Regions from separate parts of the Homo sapiens genome. Here region 2 is linked to region 1. Evidence: promoter capture Hi-C in human tissues and cell types (Jung and others, 2019). All regions are on one chromosome and are shown on one strand. Each heading gives the region's core, a stretch centred on a gene start or on the middle of the fragment in contact. The rest is flanking DNA. Distances are from core to core; before and after follow the strand shown.

Region 1 (3,775 bases), core at 778-3,277:
GATCCAAATGCTAATACTAATAATAGTTATTTACTTATTGGGATTTACTAGGTACATGCCAATGTACTAAGCACTTTCCATGCGTTAGCTCATGTAATCCTCGAAAAATCCTGTGAAATAAATATTATCTCTGCCTTACAGATGAGGAAACCGAGGTCCAGAGAGGTCAAGGGGCCTGCCTATGCTAATGAATGGCAGGGCCAGGTCTGGAAGCTGATTCTCCTGATTCATACCTTCTGTCTTCCCCCAGACTCCTCCTGAGGCTGCTCCTTGGCCTCAATCAGTCCTCGCCTGCCTCCACCTCACCTCATCACCTTCCCTCCACCCCCGCTGCTCCCTCAGTAACATCCCAGGTGACTGAAGCAATTGCAGCCATTTGAAGAGGCTCCACGTGTCAGTCAGCCTGCGAGCCGCGGGGAGGTGGGGAAATTACAGATGCTCCAAAATAGTGTTCCCCTCCCCCTGAGGATATTTGGAATTCAGGAATCAGACTCTGCCTGATGCTTCCTCAGGTCTCTGGGACCCTCCCAGGTGATTTCCCACTCTCAAATGCCCCCCACGAGTTGATTCTAAGTATCTGGGAGAGGGCTGCCACCCAGTGGCTGCCCGGGGGCATAGCAACCCTCCAGCACTGCCTGGTACCGCTGAACAGCTCCCCAAGACCTGAATGGAAGATCCTCCCTTCCTTTTGGCAGCTCCGTGTCCAGTCCCCTAGTAAATGGATCTCGACCTCCCTCCTCCACAATCTTAAGTCCACTCTCCCACTAGGGACCTCCAGACCCCTTCTCTGGTTTCCTAGATGTCCACTACTCCCAACTTCTCATCCAACTTCTTTCCAATGTGCCATCCCCTTCTCGTTACAGGTTTTCTTCTAACTTAAAGCCCGGCACCATGTCCTAGGAATACACCTCTCACCATCCTTCTCCCCGAGCCGCACCAGCCTGCAAGTAGAGCGAAGGAGCCACTAGAGACAGAACTCTGGTCCCCCGCACCCTCCTCCTCATCATCTGACACCATCAGACCTCAACAGCCTCTGTGCTAAGAGCCCCTAATGAGCATCAGCAAATTAACAACTTCCCCTTGATTGCTCCTTCTCTGTTAATTGGATAGGGAGGGCCCCCCTCCCCAAGGCCTCTCAGAGAAGAGGAGGGAGGCAGGGAAGGAGAAAGGTGAGAGCCACAGGAGCAGCCCCCAGGCCTGCGTTCTGTGCTGAGACTTCTGCTCCATCCCTGAGCATAGCTCCCCGTTCCAACCCTTCCTCACCCTGTCCCCTTCACTCCCTTTGCCTCCTTCCTTCTGTCCAAATTCCCTTGACCTCTGGCTATTTTTCCTTCCTTTTCTCTGCTCCTTCTTTGGAGATTTGGCAGTAAGGGGTTGCGACCATGCCCCCCACAAGCCCAAAGCTACAAGGATGGGATCTGAGTGGTCAAGGCTGCGTGTTGGCTCACATATGTGCACGTGTATATGTGTCACATGCAGGTGGGAGCAGGGATAAGAGCAGGTGAGTGCTTGCCATGTGGGTCAGGCCCCCGGGATACGTGGACATCTGTTGCGGGGGGGTGTGGTTGTGAATGGTGTGGTGTGACTCTGGTCGGTATGTGTGTCTGTCTCCATATGGGCTAAGTGCTTGAATTAGTCAAGTGTGACTCGGAGCGTGTGTGTGTATGTGTGTGTGTACGCGCGTGTGTGCCACCAGAGGAAGCAGCAGCAAGAGGCAGGAGCATCGATCCGAAGGAGACAGCGCGGGGAGAGGGACGCTAGGGGCAGACACCCTCCCTCCTGCGCGCACACACGCGCGCGCGCACACACACCACACACAGAGTCATACACACAAGCCATAGGGCCTCGCAGGCAGGGAGACGGCTCCGGGACTGGAGAGAGGCAGCGCCGCCGAAAGCGGCCGCGAGGAGGGGCGAGGCGGCGCGGGGAGCCCTGGGTCCCGCTCCCGGATCCGGGGCCCCGCGCGCACACCAGCCCAGAGACAGCCTCGCAGACACTCGTAGGCGCGCACGCGCACCCTCTCCCCTCCCCCTCCCCTCCCGCCGCCTCCCGGCCGGACGATGGATCCCTGCAGATCCCAGGGCTGAGAGCACCGCGCACCGCGCCGAGCCCGGGCAGACCGAGCCGAGGCGAGCGAGCCAGCGAGCCAGCGCGCGCGGGCGGGCGGACAGATCGGAGCCGAGCGGGGCCGGGCGGGGCGCTCCCTGCAGGGCTCTGCGCGGCGTGCCGCGGCGGCCGCGGGCTCCGGCCCCGGGCCATGAGCCCCTCCGCGACTCGGCGCTGAGCCCGCCACCGGTCCAGCGCCCCAGGACCCGCCGCCGGCTGCCGGCTTGCCGAAGCCCCCTCAGGTGGGTTTCCGATACCCCTGCCTTTGGCCGCGAGGCTCCTCGGTACCCCGAAGCCGGGACTCTCCTCCCTCTGGATTTCCCTTGCTGCTGGGGCGGCTCGGTGGCTGGGGAGGGGGGCGGGGGCCGAGCTGGGGATCTGACTGCGACGAGAAGCTGGACTGGGGGGGGCTGCGTCCGGGGCGGGGACAGCTCGCTGTCATAGGGAACCGCGCCCCCCCTCCATACATCCACCTCGGGCAGCCCGCCACCCCCCACTCCCAACATACACACAGCCTGCGCTTATGTGAGAACTGGAGACACCCGCAGGTGAGGACTCAGGCTGGGCCCCTCCCTAGATGTAGCCACCTCCCTGGGGGTTTTCTGGCCCCAGTTTAGCCCTTAGGACCACAGCCCCGTCCAGGGAATACCCGTGACCAGGACAGGAGCTCCTTACCCCGGGGTCAGCCCATCTGGGTGAGTTTTCATCTCCAGGATGGGGTGGATATTCTTGTCCCAGAGTGACCCCACATCTGGAGGGAACTCCTGCGCCTGCCTATGGGTGCATCAGGACTTCCCCCTCAACCTCGGATGACTATATCTGGGGTCTCCCCGGGCCTGGGAAGCTTCTCTGGGGAGCATTCTCTTGGCCTGACCTGACCCCCTGTGCCTCTGTATTTGGAGGAACCCTGGATGTGTCCCTTGGTCAGCCACCTCTGGGCTTGCAAAGCAGGGAAGTCTTCTGCCCGAGGAGTGGTGACCTCTGGAGATGAGGATTCTGGATGGGCACATGTGGAGGGGCTCCATGTGTACTTTCATCCCAGGACAATGATAGACTGTCCCTCCCTCCTCCCCCAGGATCCCCTCAACAAGGATGGAACTGAAGGCCGAGGAGGAGGAGGTGGGTGGCGTCCAGCCGGTGAGCATCCAGGCCTTCGCCAGCAGCTCCACACTGCACGGCCTGGCCCACATCTTCTCCTACGAGCGGCTGTCTCTGAAGCGGGCACTGTGGGCCCTGTGCTTCCTGGGCTCCCTGGCTGTGCTGCTGTGTGTGTGCACGGAGCGTGTGCAGTACTACTTCCACTACCACCATGTCACCAAGCTCGACGAGGTGGCTGCCTCTCAGCTTACCTTCCCTGCTGTCACGCTGTGCAACCTCAACGAGTTCCGCTTTAGCCAAGTCTCCAAGAATGACCTGTATCATGCTGGGGAGCTGCTGGCCCTGCTCAACAACAGGTGGGTGGCTCCCACCCTCCCTCAGCCCTGCTCCTGGAGTTGCTTGAGTTCCAGTCAGGATGTCTGCCTCCCTGACCCACCATAGAGCCCAGCCAACCCTGCCCTTTAACCCACCCCCACCCCCAAACCTGCCACTCACAGCAGAGGAGTTAGGGTGCTGCTGAGCACCCAGTTAAGGGCACCCAGCCTCCGATCCCAGCATAGTCCAGAACAGC
Region 2 (3,831 bases), core at 513-3,012, 230 kb before region 1:
TGTGTCTGTATCCTTTAGCTTAGTAATGTTTTTGAGATCCATCCATGTGTATCAGTAATCTGTTCTTTTTTATTGCTGAGTATTATTCCATTGCATGAATATATCACAATGTGTTTATCCATTCTTCAATTGATGGATATTTGGGTATTTCCAGTTGGGGTTATGATGAATATGGCTGCTATTAACATTCTGGTGCAAATATTTTCATAGACATGTTTTCATTTCTCCTTTTCACCTTATTTCTTGATGATAGTGGCATCTTCGGAAGCCTACAGCATTGTGAATTCTTATTCAATCATCTAACATTGAATAGGGATCAGTGGGCTAGTTCTGGGATTACAACAAAAAGTAGACATGGTCCTTTCCTCAAAGGGCTTGAAAGTCCAATAAAACTCCATGTACCTGTTGTATTCCTAATATTGCCTTGTATTCCTAATTCTGCCTTGAGGTAGAAAACCTTAAAAGTCTGCCAGGCATTTCTAACTACTTTTGGATGTTTCCAAATAACTGAATTATTGGAAGTAAACAGAACATCAAGATGATAATTTACTTTCCTTTTTTTTTTTTTTTTTTTTGAGACAGAGTCTTGCTCTGTCACCCAGACTGGAGTGTAGCAGCACAATCTCGGCTCACTGCAAGGTCTGCCTTCCAAGAGGCAATTCTCTTGCCTCTTGCAATTCTCAAGCAATTCTCCTGCCTCACCCTCCCAAGTAGCTGAGATTACAGGCGTGCGCCACCACACCCAGCTAATTTTTGTATTTTTAGTAGAAATGAGGTTTCACCAAGTTGTCCAGGCTGGTCTTGAACTCCTGACCTCAAGTGATCTGCCCACTTCAGCCTCCCAAAGTGCTGGGATTACAGGTGTGAGCCTCTGTGCCCAGCCAATATTTTACTTTTCATTTAGATGTTTACTCTTGTTTAATAAACAGCCAGAACATCTGTATTTGTCAGAGCAAGTACCTGGCTCTCTCCTTCCTTAAAGGCTATTGTGCACTTGATAATTTCAGCATTCAGATTTTGGCAGATTCTCTATGCTTCACAAACCTTCATCCTCACTGACAGGGGTTGAAAGAAGTGTAGCTACTATTGCTTCAAGATCCCTTTCAGTCTTTTGATAAGGCTTAAGGCACTTTCATTCCTTAGTGCTATTATTTGCATAAATTAAAAATTACACAGAAGTCCCAAAGTTTGTTCTTCACTCTTATGATATACCACTAATCATATATTGTTATTTACTTGAGTCGTCTGTGTAACAAAACAGGCTAGGCCTCTTAGGTCTCTGTTAGCTGCAAGCTGTTACTACTGGTTTAGTAACAAACCAGTTTGGTGGTATTGTCTAACTATGCATGTAGTGCTGGTGCCTGATAGATGGATTCTCAGAGAGAATCACCTCGTCACTGCTAACATCAGTACTTTGAATGGGGTTCCCTGCTTTAATACTGTGTGGTCATTCATTTAATGTTGGAGCATCTTCAATTCTCAGAGGTTGAAACTATAGCCATTTAGCCATTGGTTGATAAGCTGACTCTAGTTTAGAACTCCTGGCAACAGGAGATAGTCAGGTTGGTAACTAGCCTCTCAAAACATTTTTTCTTTTTTTTTTTCCAGATAGGGTCTTGCTGTGTCACCCAGATTGGAGTGCAGTGGTGTGATCACAGCTCACTGCAGCCTTGACCTCTAGGCTCAAGTGAGCCCCTACCAAGCAGCTGGGACTACAAGTGCGCACCACCATACCCAGCTAATTTTTTCATTTTTTGTAGAGACAGGGTCTCACTGTATTGCTCAGGCTGGTCTTGAACTCCTGAGATCAAGCGATCCTCCCACTGTGGCCTCCCAAAGTGCTGGGATTATAGATGTGAGCTACCATGCCTGGCCTCAAAACATTTTTGTAATCTGGCTGTTTTCCAGTTGGATGGACTCTGAGTGCAATCTCAATGTCTTTCCTGATCAGTAAGAGGAAGAAAGGAGCTGTTGTATAATCTTTGGTCCACTTGCTATATAGGAATAGATCTTTACTGCTACATATACATAATTCTGTACGGAACAGTCATGTTCCTTGGATTCTGACAGCATCGCCAATATGTGCTTTGAAACCTCCTACCTGGCACAGATATGATGAATCTACTCATATCCTTGAACCTCTTTTTCATCACTTTTCATCATTCAAACATTTTTATTGAATCTATATGCTAAGCTCTGTATATAAAGTATTAGATAACTTGTACAGAGTTCATGTGGGGTATGATAAACAATGAGACTGGAAAGGTAAGCAGTGGGTAGATCATCCTTTATCCTAAGAGCAGTGTAGCCTTTGAATGGTTTTAAGCAGGAGAGTAGCATAATCAGATTTGCATTTTAGATCCATGTGGTTGCAGTGAGGAGGATAGAGAGAGCAAGACTGAAGTCAGGGGGGCCAGGCAAGGTTTTTGTAGTACCTGAGGAGAAAAACGAGAAATGATGTGGTCTGGACTAGGAAAGTGATAGTGGTGATGGAGAGGACGTAGAAATGCCCAGGGGGCATCCAAGTAGAAACATCTCTCCAACTCGTCAGAACTTCCCAACTGTGTGCCTCAGGAAGAGTTTACGGTGGTGCTGCATAATGGGCTTCACAATTCTCAGGGCAGCACAAGCTTCCTGAGTCAGAGAGCAATCTTGGTTATGCCAGATTGCATCATCCAGCATATAAAACACCATCATTTACTATGTGTGTACTGACATGGAAAAGGTTGGGAAGCACTGATGTAGGCTGTGGGATAAATAATTCTGAAGCTCAGGAGAGGAATCAGGATGATAGATAAGAGATTTGTGAGTCCTCAGAACGTTGGTGGTTACTGAAGTCATGGAGTTGAGGAGATCATGCAAGGAGAGAAAAGAAAGGCAGGAACAGAACCCCAAGGAACATCAACATTAGAGGGGGGTCTCCAGAGAGGGAGAAAGAAAACTGAATGAATGCTGTCACCAGAACCCAAGAAAGGGATTTCCAAAAAAAAAGACCAAATACAGTCGGTCCTTCTTATTGGTGGCTTCCACATCCATGCACTCAATCAATCTCAGATCAGAAAAAATAAAAGAATAAAAACTACATCTCTCTGAAGACTAGATCAGAAAAAAAAATAACTACAGCAATAAAAATACAAAATTTTAAAAATTTAGTGTTAACTATTTACATAGTATTTACATGATATTACATATTATAAGTAATCTAGAGATGATTTAAAGTATATAGGAGAATACCCCTAGGTCATTTGCAAATACTATACTATTTTATGTAAGGGACTTAAGCATCCTTTGATTTTTGTATCCTTGTGGGTCCTGGAACCAATTCCCCATGAATAGGAAGGGATGATTTTTTGGCCCCGATGTTGCTGAGTCAAGTTGGATCAGGACAGAGACATCCCCACTGACTCTGGCCACATGTCATTGGAGACTTTGATAAAACCAGACTTTATTTGTTTATTTAAAATAGAGATGGGGTCTCACTCCATTGCCCAGGCTGTTCTCGAACTCCTGGGCTCAAGCAGTCCTCCCCTCTTGGCCTTCCAAAGTGTTAGGATTACAGGCGTGAGCCACCACGCCTGACCTGGCAAAACCAGATTCTGAAGGATTGAGAAAAATTTACAAAGTAAGGAATGGAGACAGGAGATGTTTAAAACTTTTTGGCTGGGCGCGGTGTCCCATGCCTGTAATTCCAGCACTTTGGGAGGACGAGGTGGGTGGATCACCTGAGGTCAGGAATTCAAGACCGGCCTGGCCTACATGTGAAACCCCGTCTCTACTAAAAATACAAAAATTAGCTGTGTGCGGTGGCATGTGCCTGTAATCCCAGCTACT

The links. Contacts are between HindIII fragments. The study calls those that stand out against the background at their distance.
Region 2: a contact is called between a fragment that was not itself captured here and the fragment with the promoter of ASIC1 in region 1, in 1 of the 25 tissues and cell types used here (IMR-90 fibroblasts).

Annotation. Positions count from the first base shown.
Region 1 is chr12:50,055,569-50,059,343 of GRCh38, forward strand. ASIC1 (acid sensing ion channel subunit 1) reads left to right here and starts at 2,028. Exons shown (of 12, transcript NM_001095.4): 1 at 2,028-2,348; 2 at 3,183-3,560. The coding sequence starts at 3,199. RefSeq lists silencers at 1,831-1,990, 2,061-2,230. The HindIII fragment of the contact is 14,217 bases long and covers 1-3,775 here.
Region 2 is chr12:49,830,351-49,834,181 of GRCh38, forward strand. The region is part of intron 2 of BCDIN3D-AS1 (BCDIN3D antisense RNA 1); the gene reads left to right. Among named protein-coding and RNA genes, the nearest start is that of BCDIN3D-AS1, 3.7 kb to the left of the region's middle. RefSeq lists an enhancer at 1,456-1,750. The HindIII fragment of the contact is 4,299 bases long and covers 1-3,831 here.